Regions from separate parts of the Homo sapiens genome. Here regions 1 and 2 are each linked to region 3. The links are contacts of gene promoters, found by promoter capture Hi-C in blood cells and fetal thymus (Javierre and others, 2016). All regions are on one chromosome and are shown on one strand. Each heading gives the region's core, a stretch centred on a gene start or on the middle of the fragment in contact. The rest is flanking DNA. Distances are from core to core; before and after follow the strand shown.

Region 1 (4,716 bases), core at 103-2,602, 310 kb before region 3:
TTATTTTATTTTATTTATTTTTTGAGACAAGGTCTCACTCAGTCACTCAGATGGGAGTACAGTGGCACAATCTCAGCTCACTATGGCCTTGACCTCTCGTGCTCAAGAATCCTTCCACCTCAGCCTCCTGAGTAGCTGGGACTATAGGTGCACACCGCCATGCCCAGCTAATTTTTTTGTATTTTTTGTAGCAACAGGGTTTTGCCATGTTGCCGAGACTGGTTTCAAACTCCTAGGCTCAAGCGATCCACCTGCCTCGGCAACTAAAGGGCTGAGATTACAGGCGTGAGCCATTGTGCCCAGCCCTAGACAGTGGATTTAAAATCAACAAAGTATGGTCTACCTCAGTAAGGGTTCATTGTCCAGCTTGTAGAATGTGAGGGACCTTTGTTTTGATTCTCTTCTTTAATGTTTAGGCAGCTAATTGTGGTGTGAAAGAAACTTTTTTTGGTTGATGTTCTGTTCTTTCAACAGGATGCATGTGCCAGCTGTGTATCTGGAACCATGATGGGAAAAGTAACAATATAGTTAAGGAGATAAGACTAATATTTATACATGAACATTTAATACTTTATGTATGATTGTATGTCAGAATATTCTGTACAAACAAGAGACACCAAAGCCTTTCAATATGTCTGTTCTCTCCAGGAATATAACCCTAATTTATTTTTGTCATTCGTCAGAATATTTTTGTAGTTACATAATAGATAACAAAGTGTTTCCTCTGCCTTCAAACTTTGTATCCAGCTAAATGACATTTTTAAAAATCCACTATAGACTTTAGTTTACTTTAAAAGCATTATAAGAGCATTTCTACAAATGTAATCATTGTTTCTTAACTAGAGATTCCTAAATATATTTCTTCCTTACAGTACTTTCCTATTTCATAAGCTTTTTTAGGGTGAAAATGTGGAATCTCTTTAATGTTTTTATTCTCTCATTCAAAAGTAATCATTGATTCTAGACACTGCTTCCATGACAATGCCTGTGATTGTCACAGAAGGCAGAGCATGATCTCCTCAAACAATACTTGCTGTAGGAGGGAGGGAACCAATGTGTGTTTGGAATCTGGCTTCACCACTTATCACCTATGTGACTTTGGCCAAGTCACCGCAAACTGAGTGCCCAACAGGTGCTGAGTCCCTTTCTATATATTGGTCAAAATCAATTTAAAGGGCCATCCCAAGTGTAATGTAAAGGTTCATCTGAAGATTCAGAGATTCATGTTCTCTCTCTGTTCTATGTTATTATTCAATAGGAATATATGATTCTTGATAATGAACTGTCAGTGCAGAAAGAACCTTCTTTTCATTAAAGAATAACTTTTTGTTGACTTCTCATTCTAATTTTTTTTTCATTGTGTATATGATTAGGGCCTGGCACCTTGATTGTAAAGCTGCTTATGGAAAGTATCACTCTCCCTGGAATTCCCAGATCTTAAAACATAACACAACAAAATCTTTATGTATCCTAGAAATGTGGTGTTTATAACTGACTATAATTCTTCTCATCAATAAGACTGATGTGTTAATGCAGGAACTAAATTACAGTAGGACTGAGGAAGGAACAATTGTTTGGTATCTTTGTGGGTATTCAGTTGCTCATATAAGGGTGAGACTATCTCTAGACTATTCTGTTCCATTGATGTGTTTGTCTTTTCTTATGCCAATAATGTCTTGATTATTGAAACTGTAAAGAGAGCCTTGAAACTGTATATCCGAAAAACATTTATTTAACCTTGTAAACACCGTTCTCAGCATTGGCCTATGAAATGCATACCTGGCTTGGTCTGTGTTTGAAGAAAGAAGCTTCGTGGTGTAGTGCTAGTTGTAGAAGTGTTTGTTGTTAACATCACTCTTGCTTTCCACCTGGAAAGGATTATTTCTCCATACTGAGTCCTGTTAGGATTCTTCCTCCATGTTCTGAATTGCCAAGGCCTAGGTTAGGTTATTCAGGATCACTTGTTTAGGCTTCTCTGGTTTGGGGAAGATTTTCCGGTCTTCACAAGAAGTCAAATATGGGACCTGAGGGTCTGTCTAACCAGTTAACTTGATAAGAAACTGCCAACCCTTTGTCCAAAGTGGTTGTGCCAGTTACACTCTCACCAAGAGTGAGTATATGTGTAGTCCACATCCTCGCCATTATTTGGTGGCGTCAGTCATTTTCATTTTAGCCATTCTTTTTTTTTTTCTGAAACAGAGTCTCACTCTGTCACCCAGGCTGAAGTGCAGTAGCGTAATCTCGGCCCACTGCAACCTCCACCTCCTGGGTTCAAGCAGTTCTGCCTCGGCCACCTGAGTAGCTGGAATTACAGGCTACAAGCATGCATCACCATGCTCGGGTAATTTTTGTATTGTTAGTAGAGACAGGTTTCACCATGTTGGCCAGGCTGGTCTCGAACTCCTGACCTCAAGTGTTCCACCCACCTTGGCCTCCCAAAGTGCCAAGATTACAGGCATAAGCCACTGAACCCAGCCCATTTTAGCCATCCTGATGGGTATCTATGGTATCTTGTTGCAGCTTTAATTTGCCTCCCTGATGATTAATGATTTTGAGCACTTTTTCATGTGCTTATTGGCCATTCCTTATATCCTTCTCTGCGAAGTGCCTGTTCTAGTCTTATGCTCGTTTTTAAATTTTTTTTTTATTACAGAGTTGTAGTAGTTATGTATATATTATGGATACAAGTTCCTTATTAGATATGTTTTGAGAATATTGTGACTTATCTATGTATTTTTTTACTGGTAACTTTAATGAGCAGAAGTTTTTACTGTTGATGGTGTCCAGTTTATCCATTTTTTTCCTTTATAATTATTCTTTTTTGTCTTGTCTAAGAAATCTCTGCCAGGCCAGGCACAGTGGCCCATGCCTGTAATCCCAGCATTTTGGGAGGCTGAGACGAGAGGATCACCTGAGGTCAGGAGTTTGAGACCAGCCTGGTCAACATAGTGAAACCCGTCTCTACTAAAAACACAAAAATTAGCCAGACGTGGTGGCACACGCCTGTAATCCCAGCTACTTGGGAGGCTGAGGCAGGAGAATCGCTAGAACCTGGGAGGCAGAGGTTGCAGTGAGCCGAGATTGTGCCACTGCCCTCCAGCCTAGGTGACATAGTGAGCTCCGTCTCAAAAAAAAAAAAAAGAAATCTCTGCCTTCTTCAAGGTCACAAAGATATCTTCGATATTTTTTCTTACAGTTCTGTAGTCTTTGCTTTTACATTGAGGCCAGTGGTTCATCTCTAATTGTTTTTTGTGTACAGTATGAGATAGGGGTCAAGGTTTGTCGTTCCCCCATAAGACTATCCAGTTTCAGTACCATTTGTTAAAAGATTTATCTTTTTTTATTATTTGGTATATTTGTGACTATTCAATTACTCATAGAAGGGTGGGACTATCTCTAGACTCTATTCTGTTCCATTGATCTATTTGTCTGTTCTTATGCCATAGTGTCTTAATTATTGAAACTGTATAGAGAGCTTGAAATCAGGCAACCTAAACCTTCCCAACACTGTTCTTTTTCAACATTGTGTTTCTTCTGGAAGACCCTAATCTCTGTCTCTGGTTTCCCATGCAGCCACCCAGGCAGAGGTCAGGGTCTCCACATTTTGGCAGAAATCTTTAGTGTAGAGCCAGGTGCAGTGGTACACACCTATAGTCCCAGCTTGAGCCCTGGAATTCAAGGCTATAATGTGCTGTGATTGCACCTGCGAATAGCCACTGCACTCCAGCCTGGGCAACATAGCAAGACCCCATCTCCAATTTTTAAAAAATCGTTAGTGTAAAGGCCAGCTTTGATACTCATTCACTTCATAAATATCCTTCTTCCACTCTCTTGATTTCTGCAGATTCTTTATGTATATATATTACTCAACATTTGTTTAAAGATACCCTAAAAGTATTTTATCCAGCTTTTCACTTAAGATAGTAGTTCAGGGTATCTAGTATGTCATGCTGCCGTTAACAGAAGTCAGTTGTAGTGATTTTTTTTCTCATTTACATTTATCTGTATCTTTAAAAATTGCTACAATAATATATGTTAATTGAGTAATTCAAAAGAACCAGTAATGATAATTACAAAATTTAGTAACCGTTTTATTGGTTTTGAATCCTTCAGACCCCTGGAATGCCCTACCAATCCTGTGGCTAATTCAAAATATGGCCCAGAATTGTCATTCCCTCCAAAATATCATCTGCCAGCGAGAATATGGGCCCCAAACATTTTGACCTTCACAGCGTTGGTATTTAATGAATGTTGCTGAAGGCAAGTACTTCATATGGTGTTGCAACTTGTTCCCTTGCAGGAATGGTCTGCCGAAAACCGACCGACCCGGTTGATTGGCCACCACTTGTCCTGGGACTGCTCACTCTGCTGAAGCAGTTCCATTCCCGGTACACCGAGCAGTTCCTGGCGCTGATTGGCCAGTTTATCTGCTCCACGGTGGAGCAGTGTACAAGGTACAGAAGACCAACCAGGACTACGTGGGACTTCTTGTCACAAAACCTAACTTAAACCTCACATTACCAAATTCCTCTTATCGCCCTAATAGAGATGGGAAATGGTTGCTCACCCTTCTCTGTAAAGCAAGTCAGGGCATACCTCCTTGTTTAGAGCAATTACAGGTGTGTCCATCCTTAGTCACCCTGCCAGGGGAACTCCATCCGGTCTACTCACATTGATTTTCCAGGAGTGACTCAGGACCATGAATAGTAACTACCA
Region 2 (4,482 bases), core at 93-2,592, 290 kb before region 3:
GAATAGAGCACCAAGTAGATTCCTAAGTTTCCCAACTCCAGGCCCTGGCTCCCAGACAGCATTTCTGGACCAGTCCTGGGCCCCCAGGAGCTCACTGCCCTCAAGGGAAGGGCACAAGCCTGGCTGGATTTGTGCTGACTGTAGAGCTCTTGAGTCTTGAGGGAACATCAGCGGTGACCAGGCAGTCATCACCACAAGCCTTTCACCAATACCCAGTGCTGTACTGGCTTCAGGTCTGACTCAGCACACGCCAGTCATGGTGGCCACAGGCATACCTGTGTCACCCGTCCCCCACAGCTCCAGGCAGCTCAACAAAGAAGGACAGACTCTGTTTGGGGGAAAGTAAGGGAAGAGAACCAAGAGTTCTTTTCCTGATAATCCAGGGAATTCTCCCAGATATTACCCAAGACCACCAAGGCGGTACCTCTACAAGTCTGCAAGGGTCACAATGTTACTGGACTTGGGGTGCCCCTTAATACAGATACGGCTGCTATGACCAAAGACTTAGATCACAACACTCACTTCCCTTTGAATACTTCAAAAGCGTTCCCAAGAAAGATGGGTACAAACAAGCCCAGACTCCGAAGACCACAATAAATACCTAACTCATCAATGCCCAGACATTGGTGAACATCCACAGTCATCAAAACCATCCAGGAAAACATGAACTCACTAAATTAACAATAATAAATAAGGCACCAGTGACCAATCCCAGAGTAACAGAGATGTGAGCTTTCAGAGAATTCAAAATAGCTGTTTTGGAGAAGCTCAACAAAATTCAAGACAACACAGAGAAGGAACTCAGAATGCTATCAGGTAAGTTTAACAAAACAACTGAAATAATTTAAAAGAATCAAGCAGAAATTCTGGAGATAAAAAATTCAATTAACTTACTGAAGAACATGGCAGAATCTCAACAGTAGAACTGATCAAGCAGAAGAAAGAATTAGTAAGCTTGAAAACAGGCTATTTGAAAATACACAGAGGAGACAAAAGAAAAAAGAATAATCAAGAATGAGGCACACCTACAAGATCTAGAAAATAATTTCAAAAGAGCAAATCTAAGTTCTTGGCCTTTAAAAGGAGATAGAAAGATGAGGGTAGAAAGTTTATTTGAAGAAAAAATAACAGAGAACTTCCCAAATCTAGAGAAAGATATCAATATTCAAGCACAAGAAAGCTACAGAACACCAAGCAAGGATTGGTGATTGATTTAATCCAAACAAGACTAGTTCAAGCCATTTAATAATCAAACTCCCAAAGGTCAAGGATATAGAAAAGATCCTAAGAGCAACAAGAGAAAGGAAACAACAAACAATGGAGCTCTAGTATGTCTGGCAGTAGACTTAGTGGAAATCTTACAGGCCAGGAGAGAGGGGCAAGACACACTGAAAGTGCTGAAGGAAAAGAACTTTTATGCTACAATAGTATATCCAGTGAAAATATCCTTCAAACATGAAGGAGAAATAAAGACTTTCCCAGACAAACAAAAGCCGAGGGACTTCATCAACACCAAACTTTCCCACAAGAAATGCCGAAGTGAGTTCTTCAATCTAAAAGAAAAGGACCTTAACGAGCAGTAAGCAATTACATGAAGGTACAAAACTCACAAAAGTTAAAAAGCAAGGAGGATAAAGTGTAGAGTTTTTATTAGTTTTCTCTGCTCGTTTGTGGAATCAGTTGTCATCAGTTTAAAATAATCGGTTATAAGATATGACCTGCAAGCTTCCTGGTAATTTCAAATCAAAAGCCTACAAGAGGTAGGCAAAAAAATTAAAAGCAAGAAATTAAAACATACTACCAGAGAAAATTACCTTCACAGAAAGGAAACAGGACGGAAGAAAAGACAGCAAAACAATCAGAAAACAAAAACAAAATGGCAATAGTACGCACTTACCAATAATAACATTCAATGTAGATGGACTAAACTCCACTCGAAAGGCGTAAGTGGCTGAATGGATTTAAAAAAAGAACCAACGATCTGCTGCCTAAAATAAACACACTTCACCTATAAAGCCACAAAGAGACTGAAAATGAAGGGATGGAAAAAGATATTCCATGCAAATGGAAACCAAAAAAGAGCATAGTGATATTTACATCAGTAAAATAGATTTCAAGACAAAAACTATAAAAAGAGGCAAAGAAGGTCATTAGATAATGATAAAGGGGTCAATTCAGCAAGAGGATGTAACAATTACATATGCACCCAATACCGGAGCACTCAGATATATAAAGGAAATATTATTAGAGCTAAGGAGACAGACCCCAATACAATCATGGCTGGAGACTTCAACACCCCACCTTCAGCACTGAATAGATCATCCAGACAGATAAACAACAAACATCAGACTTAATCTGGACTACAGGCCAAACAGACCTAACAAATATTCACAGAACATTTCATCCAACAACTGCAGAATACACATTCTTCTCCTCAGCAAATCGATCATTCACAAGGATAGATCATGGGTAGGCCACAAAACAAGGCTTAAAAAATTCAAAAAACAATTGAAATCATATCAAGTATCTTCTCTGACCACAGTGGAATAAAACTAGAAATCAGTACTATGAGGAACTTTGGAGACTGTGTATACAAACACATGGAAATTAAACCACATGCTCTTGAATGACCAGTGGGTCAATGAAGAAATTAAGAAGTAAATATAAAAATTTCTTGATAGAAATAAAAATGCAAAGACAATATATAAAACCTGTGAGACACAGCAAAAGCAATACTTAAAGGGAAAGTTTTTAGCAGTAAGTGCCTACATCAAAAAAGCAGGAAAACATCAAATAAACAACCTAACAGTGCATCTCAACCAGAAAAGCAAGAGCAAACCAAACCCCAAATTAGTAGAAAATAATAAAGATCAGAGCCAAAATAAATGAAATGAAAAAAATACAAAAGATAACAAAATGAAAAGTTGGTTCTTTGAAAAGATAAAATCAGCAAACCTTTAAGACAAACTAAGAAAAAAGAAAGAAAACCCAATTAACTCCTTTTCCTGTTCCTATGTCAGCAAATGGCTGGCAAAACTATCTAAGCCAGAAACCTGGAATTTACATCAAGAGATTTCACTCTCATTATAATATCCAAATCATCACGTTTTTTACATTCTACATCCTAGATATTACCCAAATTTATTCATTACCTTTCATTTTACAACCCTAGTTCTGGCCTTTTATCATCATTGACAGAATAATTAATCTTAGTGTATGTTTTACTAGACTTTCCTCCAAACCATCCTCCACAAAAATGTCAGAGTATATTCCTGAAATAAAAGTCTAATCATGCCACTGCCTCTTTAAGAAAATTCCATTTACAAAAGTATCAAAAAAGGTAAAATACTTAGGAATAAATTTAACAAAAGAAATGCAAAACTTATACTCTGAAAACTACAAAATATTGTTGAAAGAAACCCTTACCTTTCAGTCAAGGGAATTTTGACCACAAGGGCAAGAAAATTCACTGGGGAACAAACAGTCTTTTCAACAAATGATACTGGGACAACTGAATATCCACACACAAACAAATCAAGCTGGACCCCTTCCTCTCAACAGACACAAAATTTAACTCAAAATGGATCAAAGAGCTAAATTTAAGAGGTAAAACTATAAAACTCTTAGAAGAAAATATAGGAGTAACAGGCCAGGCATGGTGGCTCATGCCTGTAATCCCAGGACTTTGGGAGGCTGAGGTGGGTGGATCACCTGAGGTCAGGAGTTTGAGACCAGCCTGGCCAACATGGCGAAACCCCGTCTCTACTAAAAATACAAAAATTAGCTGGGCACGGTGGCGAGCACCTATAATCCCAGCTACTCGGGAGGCTGAGGCAGGAGAATTGCTTGAACCTGGGAGGCCGAGGTTGCAATGAGCCGAGATCGCACCATCGCACTCCAGCCTAGGCGACAAGAGCGAAACTCCATCTCAAAAAAAAAAAAAGAAAAAGAAAACATAGGAGTAAATCTTTTTGAACTTAGATTGGACAAAGCCTTCCTAAATATGACATCAAAAGCACAAGCAACGAAAGAAAAAATAAACATGAAAATTTAAACCATGTGTACTTCAATGGAAACCATTAAGAAGAATGGAAAGAAAACCCACAGAATGAGAAAAATTTTGCAAATCACATATCTAATAAGGGACTTGTACCTAAAATATATAAAGGACTCTTGAAACTCAACAATACATAAATTTTAAATCTGCCCAATTAAAAAAATATGCAAAGTCTAAATATACATTTCTCCAAACAACAAATGGCCTATATGCATATGAAAAGATGTTCAACATCATTATCTATGAGAGAAATGCAAATCAGCACAATGATAAAAGGCCTAGTTCACACTACTAGGATGGCTATGCACACAAAGATAATACAAGTGTTCACTGACAAGGATGTGGAGAAATTAGAACTCACACACTGCTGAAAGGAATGTAACTGGGACAGCTATTTTGGAAAACAAGTCTAGCAGCTCCTCAAA
Region 3 (4,791 bases), core at 1,823-4,322:
TCGCCAAGACATTGTGTCTGCTCTCTAGTGGGGTAGGAACCTGGTTGGGTTCCATTCCTGAGACATTTCTTGAGCACCTGCTTTGTACCAAACCACGCCTGTCCTCCCAGGAGCATCCAATCTCCTTTGCTTTGTTTATGTGCTCCCAAGCTGCCTGCTGACTACTAATTTGACTTCTGCAGTGCCTTGATATGGAGAACTGGGCTCTCAGGGGAACAGATATCCCTGCTGCAAGTTATAAACCAAGACTGTCCAGGACCTGATCTCCCTCTCATTAACAGTATTTCTGGGGCTTAGCTCTTTCTGTACCATATAAGCATGATGAGAAAAATATATATTTTATAAGTAAGATAAGGGTCTGGTCAGAGTAGCAATAAAAGAGCATGAAAAAGATATTAGTTTAGAAAACCTTAAGTTTACATACCATATGAAGCAATTCAGAAATATATCTGGTTATTTCGAATCCATCAGAGGCATCTGAGTTTACCTAAAAGTGTAAAATATTATACATTACACAAAACCCAACATTTCATCATGTAAACAACAAAAACGGGACACCCTATTGTCGCAGAGGCAGATTCTATAACCTGAAACCCCTCCTGCCATAGCCACGTAGACACAGTTGGTAAAATGTAATCAGAATCTCTTTAAATATATGCAGAGCCAGTCTAAAAGAAGGGAAGTCCCCAACAGCCAGAAACAAAGGAGAATCTGAAAACAAGGAAAGAATGTATGACAGCTGGCCAGGCACAATGGCTCACGCCTGTAATCCCAGTACTTTGGGAGGCCGAGGCGGGTAGATCATCTGAGGTCAGGAGTTCGAGACCAGCCTGACCAACATGGAGGCTGAGGCAGGAGAATCGCTTGAACCTGAGAGGTGGAGGTTGCAGTGAGCCGAGATCGCGCTACTGCTCTCCAGCCTGGGTGACAGAGTGAGGCCCTGTCTCAAAAAAAAAAAAAAAAAAAAAAAATTGCCAGGTGTCACTCCCACTTTCCTGCATCTGGGAACACTTTTCCAGCCTCCCTTTCAAGGAGTTCTCATGAGAGACAAGGGCCTGGTGGTCAGGCCCAGGGAAAAAGGCCACAAGAGAGGTATGCTTTGGCAAACATTGCTAAAGTTGGGGTATTTGGGGCATTGAAATTTAAGCATGTGGCAGGAAAGCTAGACCAAGTGTCCACTGGGCTAAGGCCCCTTATCCCAGGAGTTCAGGAGGCTGGGTAAAAGAGAGACCTGGGGCATGGAAGTCAGAAAACCAGGGTTGGATTCCTTCCAACAGTGCAACAAGGACCAGAATGATAATTTCCTTCAAGTAGACATAATACGTATAAAATGCCCAGAATGCACACAGTAGACCCTCAGCAATGTGCCTGGGACAGCACACCAATGTTACAGAAGTGAAATGGGGCCAGGGCTGGACCTGAGCCTTGGCCTCATCCCTGCTTCTTCTGTTGATAAGATTTATCGAATGATTACTTACGAGATGCCAGGTACCACTTGAAGTGCTTTCATCGATCAGCTCATGTAATGTTCAGAACAGCCCTATCAGGTAGAAGCCATCATTATCCCCATTTACAGATGGATGAGGAAACTGAGGCCCAGAAAGGTTAAGTAACATACCTAAAGGCATACAGTTAGTAGGTTGTGAACTGGAGTTTGAATCCAGGCAATCTGGCTCTACAAGCAGTCATCTTGATAGTTAGAATACCAATAGTATTAAAATCACAATAATGATTGGCAGCAAACGATGTGTCAAGCACCCGTTATTGGCAAGGTGAAGATGAGTCGGATGCATTCGAACGCCCTTGGGGACAGGATCCAGCAGGGGTGATCAAGAGATCAGTTACTTCCTGAAGGTAACACCCTTCCGGGTGATTTCGGGGAGACGGATGGGGAAGGTGGGTTGCAGTTAAGAGTTGGGCAGAGTGATCCAGGGGAACATTATCTTCTGCAGCTGTGCTGTGTAACTCCATGCATCCCTTTGATCCATAAAGTTTTCAAAGCCAGACCTTTTCCCATTACGGAGTGAATCTGACACAAGTGTACAGAATTTTGCACTTGGTTTCTTTTGGCCCCACTCCCCCCAGTCTTTTCTTTTGTTATGTTTTGTGCTTCAAATGGTTAGCTCAAGGGTTAAAGGAACTGTCCGGAGTTAGGTGCCTATGTCTTAATATCTTTTAAAAGTTGCTCATTTGATTCTCCTCCCTCTGGCCCATTTGGCGTTCATCTGAATGAGGGCTCCTGGTTATGCAGATAGGCAGTGGAGCTGTGAAAATGGACCACTAGGCCCCAAATCAACCTGGGCACATTTGCGCTCTGCAGGTTCAACCTCCCAGGAGGGCTCCCTGCGGTTATACCAACGCTGGCTGCTCTCAGTGGGCCTGAAAACCATCAACCGTCCAAGTCATAGGCAATCAGCAATCTCGATAGACTGATGGATCGTGGACAGAAGCTCTAACGCTGTTTCCATTCATTTAGCAACAGCAAATCAATCCACTTTCCCAGCATCCTGCAACTTTATCGAACTCGGCATCCCATTGCAGGATACGCCCCCGAACTCTCCTTAATTATATATTTCGCTATTTGCAATCAGGACTCGGCGATGCAGTCCTGACATCAGAGAATGGGCGTCTTCTCAGAAGGCCGCAGTAGCGGCAGCAGCTTTCCCGCCCTACTGAGCGCTCACTACAAGCGGGCTCTGGGCTAGGCGCGCCACCCGTGCAAGTCCCCGGGGAGCGGCGGTGCACCCTCCGTCCCGCGCGCTCGCAGCCATTGTAGGGGTGGGCGCTCGCCAGGCAGGGTGCCGACACGCCCTCTCCGCGCTGCGACGGGCGGCCGGGGGAGGAGAGGGTGCGCTGTGCGCACCGGAGGGAGAGGCTCCGGCCCAGCGCCGCCTGCCCGCCAGCAGACCAGCAGGCTCCTCTTTGCGGCGGGTGCCCCACGCGCCTCTCGGGCGCGCGCTCCCAGCCCCGCCCGCGTGCGGCGGCCGCACGGCCGCGAGAGCGCGCCTCCGCTTGGCGGGCACGGCCGCGAGCGCGCGTGCGCCCCTCCGAACGTCCCCGGGAGCCCAGCCAGAGCGAGCGCCGGGGCCGGGCGCGCAGGAGTGAAAAGGAGGCGGCGGCCGCAGCTGCGAGCAACAGATCCGGACGCCGCGAGCTGACCCGCTCTGCTGTTGGGCGATTTTTTTTTAATTGCAGAAAAATTTATTAAATTGGAAAATCTTGCGTTTTTCAATGGCGCTGGCCCCGGGTCAGCGGGCGATTTTCTCTGCATCAAGATGGGCTTTGCCGTTTCCGTAGTGGGCACCAGTGGTGGCCTGATTGTCAGTCTTCTCCCGGCATTTTTAAGGCCAGGAGCCGAGCGCTGCTTGTAGGCGAATACCCTACAGAGCGGTTTGGCTTTTTAAATTACTGTTATTATTTTGGGCAGAGAACAGTCGGTCTGGTGCACCCCGTCCTCGCTGCAGAAGAGGCTGCGAGTCCGAGGTGGGTCTCTCGGAAGGTGAAATTCCTTCTGGGGTGAGCGAGCCCCGGCCCCGCGCGCAGTCCAGCGGCCCCGCGTGTGTGCCCTCGCCCTGCCGGAGCCGGGAAAATGGAGGCTGTGATTGAGAAGGAATGCAGCGCGCTCGGAGGCCTCTTCCAGACCATCATCAGCGACATGAAGGTAGGACGCCGGGGGTGCGGCTGCGGCGCCGGCCGCCGCGCTCTGACCTCGCCGCCGCGCTTCGCCTCCACCCCGGGCCGGGCACCCGGCCCTTCCCTGCAGTGTGGCCACCGGCCACCTGCGGGAGCTCCCGGCCGGAGTGTCACCTGCTCACCCGGGGCGCTGCTCCGGGCTCTGCGGGGTCACTGGGCGGGTGGCTTCTCTGGGGGGTGTCTGCTGTCCCACGCCATCTCCCCCGCTCATTGTCCCAGGGGGCGGCACCATTTCTTTCCCTCGGGGGCTCAAGGCACTGGCTGCAAGTTTTCCCATTGTCTGTCCCTGAAGTAAGTGTCTGGGACCCGCGGGGGCTGGATGCCCGGGAGGACACCTGATTCCTCCGGGCACGGGGTGGGGGCGCCTGGCGCGGTGGTGGGGAGGAAGTGGGGGCTCTGCCCGCTCGCAGGAAGGAGTCCCCTAGCCTAGGAGACTGAGAGGGAAAGCCAGTCCCTCCTTGGCTGTCAGGTCTACTTGGAGTGGGGTATCTGAGCAAATTAGTTATTAATTGGGCCGTTCCGAAGCTGGTAAAGGTGTGCGTGCCCTCTCTTAGCCCTCCCGCGGGGCGCGGGGCCGAAGTTCCCGGGCAGCCTTGCAGGGGCCCCGCCTTCTCCCAGCTGAGCCTAAAGGCAAGATTGGGGCCCCCGAAATAACTGTATCCTGCCCTCCCAGACCCAAACGGACACACACTCTAGGTTTTCTCTTGGAAGGGTTGTGAAGATGGTGTGTGTGTGCGCGCGTGCATGTGTGTGTGCGCGCGCGCGCGTGGGGGCGGGGAACAACACCCTGGTTTTTTCCTGCAAAGGGTGGGACTGGGGATAACCTGATCCTCGGATGTGGATTTTCTGGTGCCTAGAGATAGACCAGGGCCCCGTGTTATTCATCCAGAGGAAATAAAACCAGCCGCGCGAGCTGGCTGGAGGTGGGAATTGGGAGCGGTGGGGGAAATTATTTTTTTAATGTGTATTTAGGGAGCTTCTCTTTGGCTCTGGCCCAGCCCCAGTTTGCCTCAACAGATCCAGATCCGGGGAGGTGGTGTTTAATTAAAAGCTCGCTTCCAAAACGAGTGGGCAGGTTTGGAAAGCTGTGCACCGAGT

The links. The method cuts DNA at HindIII sites, captures the fragments that hold promoters and counts their contacts. A CHiCAGO score of 5 or more calls a contact.
Region 1: a fragment that was not itself captured here is called in contact with the fragment with the promoter of MTSS1 in region 3 in 2 of 17 cell types (naive B cells and megakaryocytes); the score reaches 6.6 in naive B cells.
Region 2: a fragment that was not itself captured here is called in contact with the fragment with the promoter of MTSS1 in region 3 in 2 of 17 cell types (erythroblasts and M0 macrophages); the score reaches 6.0 in erythroblasts.

The regions. Positions count from the first base shown.
Region 1 is chr8:125,031,979-125,036,694 of GRCh38, reverse strand. It overlaps WASHC5 (WASH complex subunit 5), which reads left to right. Exons shown (of 29, transcript NM_014846.4): 27 at 4,301-4,454. Among named protein-coding and RNA genes, the nearest start is that of WASHC5-AS1, 6.3 kb to the left of the region's middle. RefSeq lists an enhancer at 3,902-4,716. The HindIII fragment of the contact is 917 bases long and covers 894-1,810 here.
Region 2 is chr8:125,012,818-125,017,299 of GRCh38, reverse strand. The region is part of intron 7 of SQLE (squalene epoxidase); the gene reads right to left. Among named protein-coding and RNA genes, the nearest start is that of SQLE, 17 kb to the right of the region's middle. The HindIII fragment of the contact is 771 bases long and covers 957-1,727 here.
Region 3 is chr8:124,726,754-124,731,544 of GRCh38, reverse strand. MTSS1 (MTSS I-BAR domain containing 1) reads left to right here and starts at 3,072. Exons shown (of 14, transcript NM_014751.6): 1 at 3,072-3,661. The coding sequence starts at 3,590. LOC105375741 (a long non-coding RNA gene) reads right to left here and starts at 3,006. Exons shown (of 3, transcript XR_002956670.2): 1 at 1,479-3,006; 2 at 425-487. The HindIII fragment of the contact is 14,334 bases long and covers 1-4,791 here.